2 separate regions of the Homo sapiens genome follow, and region 2 is linked to region 1. The links are contacts of gene promoters, found by promoter capture Hi-C in blood cells and fetal thymus (Javierre and others, 2016). All regions are on one chromosome and are shown on one strand. The core of a region is centred on a gene start or on the middle of the fragment in contact, and the rest is flanking DNA. Distances in the headings are between cores, read along the strand shown.

Region 1 (2,851 bases), core at 31-2,530:
GTCTGCACTGGGGAGATGAGAAGTTGGGGCAGGATGACCAGCGGCGGAGGGAGCCTCCTTAATCCTCTTTCCACGCGGGGTCAGGCAGGGAAGCCTGGGGTGCAGCGCCTCTCGGGGGACGGCATCTTACAGAAGGAGGTGCAATGGGGGACAGGAGCACAAAGTTCAGGAAAGGATAAAAGGCCGGGTGCGGGGTGGAGCGTCCGCTTCGGACAATCTGCTTAAAAGTCGCTTCACAAACTCTGCAAGTTTGGGATCAATATTTACACCCTCTCTGCCTTCTCCCGCCCGTTTTCCCGCTGCTACTCAAGAAAGTAACTGTCCCCTGCTGCTCTGTGTAAACGCGGCACCTTAAATGATTATTGCATGGACCACGGTTACTTTGTGTGTCTGTGCGCGCTGCCCCTGGAAAGGAAAAGAAATAAGAGAATCCCAAATCATATACAGATGGTACAACTTTCACTTTTCCTCTATGACGACGAAGGCGCGCCTCTCTCCATCCGCTCACACCACACCCCCGCCCTCCGAAGCATAGCCCGGGCTGGAGAAGCCCCAGCGGCGGCGGCCCCCGCGGCGGAGGTCCCCGCGCGCACCCACCATGCCTCCCGCCTCCTTCCGCCCATCCCGAGCGCCGTGCGCGCCCGAAGCCCGAGCCGTAGAGCGCCACCGCGCAAAGGAAGGAGCCAGGCGCGTGCGGGGCTCGCGGAGTTCTTCTGAACCCTTTGGATGGGGGCGGAGGCGAGGGGCGCCGCCACCACTGCGGCAAACTTCGTCCCCCCTCCGGGAGGTGAAATTCTCCAATCCGTCTCCGGCCGGTCCGCGGGTCGGACTCTTCGGAAAGGACCTTCCAGGAGGAGGGAGCGAATGCAAGCCTTGCTCGGACGCCTCACCGGCGGCTCTCTAAATCTGGGCGCCTTTTGACAGCCATTTTCACTCCATCCCGTCCCCACGCTGGGGACCACCTCTGGCCCCGGAGGCGCGGGCGCGGCCGCAGGAGCGGGCTGCGGGGTCCGCGAAACAAAGAACTTCGAGCGGGACGTACCTGCGGCGGCAGCGGCTGTCAAGTCCCCGAACTTCCCATAGACCCGCGGACGGGGCGCAGGCTGGCGGCTCCCCGCTCCGCGCGGCCGCGGGCGGCTACGGCTACCGCGAGCGGCCGGGCTGGGCGCGGGGTGCGCCCGCCGCGGGCATGGTGCGGCGCGGGCGGCCGCGGGGCGCGCGGGGAAGGCGGGAGAGCGGCGCGGGTGAGTGGGAGCGGCGGGTGTGCGCGAGTGCGAGTGTGCGAGCGCGCCGGTGGCGCTGCCCCTGCCCGCTCCCTCCCGCTCGTGCAGCTCCGGCATCAGTTTCGGGGATCGTGTAATCCGATCCCTTCTGACTCACAAGCCCTGAGTGACAGTTCTGATTTGGTTCAACCGCGGGAGGGAGGGGAAAGAGAAAGAAAGAAACCCCCAGCCGTACGCCTCTCCTGGCATCCAATCGACTTTCTGGAAAAAGGTCCCATCCCGGCCTGGTGCCCCGTGCTGGGTGGAGAAGCCCCCCGCCCCGACCTGGCACCGCCTGCACTACTCACGGGGTGGAAAAGTTGTCCCTCGGCTCCGCGCTCCCCTCCCGCGCGCTCCCTCCTTCCCTTCTCTCCTCCTCTTCCTCCTCCTCCCCGCGCTCCTCCTCCCCCAAGTTTTAACAGATGTTGCCGGACTCTCCTCGCTCCCTCGCACTCTCTCTTCCTCCGCCCCGGCCCCCGCCCAGTCCCTTTTCTTTCAGCCACTCTCGGGCTCGGAGGGGACGCGCTGAGCAGCAGGACGCCTGCCGCCGCAGGGGGCGAAGTTGGGAAAACTTGGAGTGCTGCTCGCCTTACTTTTGCTTTCTCGCTCCTTCCAGGCCGCGCCGGGAGCCCCCGCTTCTCCCGCCCGCCGGGTCCCCAAGCCCGGAGTGGGTCCCAGCTGCGAGGCGGGCGGCGGCGGCTGGGAGGCGGCGCGTCGCGGGCCGGGGTCGGGGGCTGGGGGGGAGCCCGGGCGCCGCGAGCCACGCGCGCGCTCCCTCCCCGCCCTCCGCCGCCGCCGCCGCCGCCGCCGCCGCCTCCTCCTCCTCCTCCTCCTTCTCCTCCTCCTCCTCCTCCTCCGCCCCTCCCCGGTCTTCACACAGACACATTCATGCCTGCTCCTCCTCTTCCCCCTACTTGACCCCGCGCCCTCCCGGCGCGCCGAAGCCCCACCCACCCGGCGAGGGGAAGGGGGCCCGGGCGTGATGTCACCCGCGCCCTCTCTCTTCTCTCTCCACACCGCCAGGACACCCCCCAAATGCGCGCCCTGGCACTCGTGCTGCGTCCTGTCTGCTCCCATCTTCTCCCACCCAGCCTCTCTTTCTCACTCTTGCTCAAGGGCTGGACTCCCCTTTATTCTTTTAAGGCTTCTCTGATTACCACCGCCCCCCATCCTTGGCTCCCCATCTCCTTGTTTTACATTTTCCCAAAGCCATCCCCGAAACTCCCTCTCGCGGGATGATGCCTTTGGAAGTTCAGGGTTTTTCTCTCCACCGGACTCGTCTGCCCTCGGGGCCAAATCCGCGAAGCGAGGAGGAGCTCCCACCACACAGCCTGCTGTCCCTATGGGCCACTTTATAAAAGACACAAAAACAAAGACCCCAGGCTTGGAGCCTGGTCTCTAACGTGCCGCTTTTCCTTGAGCTACAAAGTGTCTCTGTCCCTGCTTCATTTTCAGAGGCCCATGCTAGTAAAAGTTATTTGGCCTCCTTCCTCGACCATCCAGTCCTTGTTCATCTGCGTCATTTTAATATATCCAACCTGGACATGTAACTTAAAAAAGGAGTTCTCGGGGGGAAACACAGGAAGAAA
Region 2 (3,057 bases), core at 558-3,057, 260 kb before region 1:
CATAAGGAATACAAAATCTGATAGGAAAAATAAGAAGATGCAATGATCTGTAATATAAAGTGTGAAAGCTATGTAAGGATATAGACAGAGGAGGGATCATTTTTCAGCTAGGATAATCATGGGAGGCATCAGTTATTAAGATTCTATATCTGGGCTTAATGCCCAGCTCACGGGATTATCAGTAAGTGCTAAATTAGATCATGTACATGAAGTGCTTACCAGGATGCATGGAACATAGTAAGCACTCAATATACAGAGCTTTTATTAGGAGTCATTTTACTTGGGATGCCAAAAAGAAGTGTCCTCAGCAAAGGTCCAGTGGCAGAACCACTTCATGCACCTAAGCATGGCAGTGCACAGCACCAGCTTCTGGAAGGTTTCATTCATGGTCATGATAGTGAGAGGTCAGGACTAGAGGGATGAGCTTGGGCCCTGTGAGAACTGACACTTACACAACCTTAGGGAGTCTCAAGTCTCCCTATAGGAAAGAGGGAGCCATTGCAGCTTTCTAGAGAGGGAGGTTCAACCGAATCAGAGCTCAGGAAACTTGTTTAGCGGTATCTTTGGGGGAAAAATGAGCTGTCTGATCTGGAGTAAGAAGTCCTGTCAGAGCTACGGTCAGTCTAGCAGCCCTAAATGAGCAGGACAGCCAGAGGAACAGAGAAGTGCCAGCAATTACTCCCTTCCCATTACAGTCCATTATTTTCTTGGCCACACTTAGAACAGCAAAGGGCTTGGCACATAAATAGCTTTAAGTATTTGTTCAATGAATAAATGAAGTTGCAAATAAGAGAGGAAATAAATGAAGGCAAATCACTTGATTCATCTAGGATTGTGAAATTGCACAAATCTGGATTTCCTGGACAAACTTAGTTTTGATGCGTCTGAAAATGTCCATCAGTCACACACAGGGCCAAAGTCTTGCATATAGAAGAGAGAAGTATAATTTGTTTGTAAATATGTCTGTGGGTAGAATTTTAATTATGTATTTATGATAAAAGTTAGTAATTTAAGTAAATTGCTCAAGTGTGGTCAATGACATTACTACCCAAGATATCCTTATCTTTTAATCTTATAACAAACACTCAACTCTCACACAACATTGCACTTTTTACCTTGGAGAAGAACACAAGCTCAACTACACCACAATTAAAGCAAACAGACATGTACAAATATTTTAGGTCCATAAAAAGACAAAAAAGCTTGGTAATTGTCTTTATATGTGTGCATTCTGATCCTAACATACCCTCTGTCCAAACTTCTCCATGATAATAGGAGACAGCATTGGCCTAACATCTATAGGAATGAATGCCCCCTAAATTTCTAGTCAAAATTACACTTAAATCTATGAAATATATGAAATACATTCTGTTAAGTCAAAACCCCTTAAAATTTTAAATTGAAATATAATTCACATGCCATAAAAATAATCCCTTTAAATTGCACAATTCAGTGGCATTAGTACATTCTAGACATTGTGTAATCATCACCATTACCTAATTCCAGAATATCTTCACCACCCCAACAAAAAAACCTTGTATCCATTAGCAGTCATCACTATTCCCTCTCCCCTCTGCTTTTGGCAACCACTGATCTACTTTCTATCTCTATGTATCTATCTATTCTAGACTCCCTAAAATTTTGTACAAAACAAGTGTAATAGATTATATTCCAGCTACTGCATACTGTAAAAGCATTTTTACATTAAAAATGGAGATGTGGCATCTTTAAAATGTCTTCAAACAGTTAGAAAATGAGATTCCGAATAACTCCAGTTTCCATGACCTTTTCACACAGAAAGTTGGTATATATATGAACTTACATGTGTGAGTTTATGAGTGAGTGTGCTTTTTACAGAGTGCAGTTAATCCCTTTAGAGATGTTTTTGCTCTGTCAGTTTCAGCTGAAGAAAACATGGTGAGAACCATCTTTGCCACCTTAAAGCCAAAAGTCCACTGAGCAGAATGGCTCACTTTGTTTCTATCAAGATTCTCTCTGCCCAGCTCTCTGTCTGAAAGATCATGAATGTGTTTGACCTGCACTGGTGAGATGAAATGACAGCCACTCCAGGGTCTCATGTGTGCACGATGTTCCTTCTCTAACACATTTCAAGCAAACTGATGACACGCTGTGGTGCTGAACTATGTCTCATGTTAACAAATTCTGGTTAGCTATCCTATTTCCACTCAAAATGTGGGGAGTCCTTTTGTTAATCTCTCAATACATTCAAGAGAAGATTTCACAGACAAGCCAGAATTTGAGCTAGACCTCCAAGGCCAAATTGGAAGTCTGTAGGAAGATGTTCACTAAAATGTAAGCAATGAATTTGGAATAATTTTTATTCTTATGCCTCTCTACAATTTAGGGGGGATCGCTACCTAAAAATAACAGTAACACAACAGGAATCACCCTGAAGCTTTACTCAATATGTTTTCTTAAGTAACTGCCTAGAAAGTATTCTGGGTTTCTGAGACCATTTTCCAAGATCCTTTGGAATTTAGAATGTCTGAAAATTGCATTTAGCCAAGGCTGGTTGCTCTGTAAAAATCTTTTTTGATATAATACCATTTGAAGATACCACTTGGAGGAAGCAAATAAAAGTGGATGACTTAGCAGGAAGCTGTCAGCTGTCAACATGCTACTTCTTAATATATCCTTGGGGCTTATGGGGTCATCCTTTGCATGGATTCCTGCTATTTTGGGCAGCGTGACTGGCTCAGATTCCAAGTCAAATGCTCCCACTGTTTGACCAGTAGGTGGCAGTTCAAAACAACATGAAACTAGTAAGTTCGCAGGGGTTTTAAGAAGTTTCCTCCTCATCTCTTATTATTCTCCAAATAAGATCCAGTTTCCAGTCCCACCTAGGAAGCTCAAGCCTTCACCTGCAGGGGCAGAGCCCCTCATGCTGGGAATGGCCAAGGGGAAAACAAAACAGAACACACTGCGCCTTCCCATGTGCCTTCCCCGGGATAGTTCTTTGTTTCCTTATGCAAGCTCCATGCCCACTGAGGATGCTTACCTCATTGGAATGCGTTCTGTTTTGGTGTTTGGCGCGAT

Evidence for each region. The method cuts DNA at HindIII sites, captures the fragments that hold promoters and counts their contacts. A CHiCAGO score of 5 or more calls a contact.
Region 2: a fragment that was not itself captured here is called in contact with the fragment with the promoter of GLI3 in region 1 in 1 of 17 cell types (endothelial precursors); the score reaches 8.4 in endothelial precursors.

Annotation. Positions count from the first base shown.
Region 1 is chr7:42,235,929-42,238,779 of GRCh38, forward strand. It overlaps GLI3 (GLI family zinc finger 3), which reads right to left and starts at 1,281. Exons shown (of 15, transcript NM_000168.6): 1 at 1,043-1,281. RefSeq lists an enhancer at 1,025-2,006. The HindIII fragment of the contact is 5,518 bases long and covers 1-2,851 here.
Region 2 is chr7:41,974,539-41,977,595 of GRCh38, forward strand. GLI3 (GLI family zinc finger 3) reads right to left here. Exons shown (of 15, transcript NM_000168.6): 12 at 3,020-3,057. Among named protein-coding and RNA genes, the nearest start is that of GLI3, 260 kb to the right of the region's middle. The HindIII fragment of the contact is 1,214 bases long and covers 1,201-2,414 here.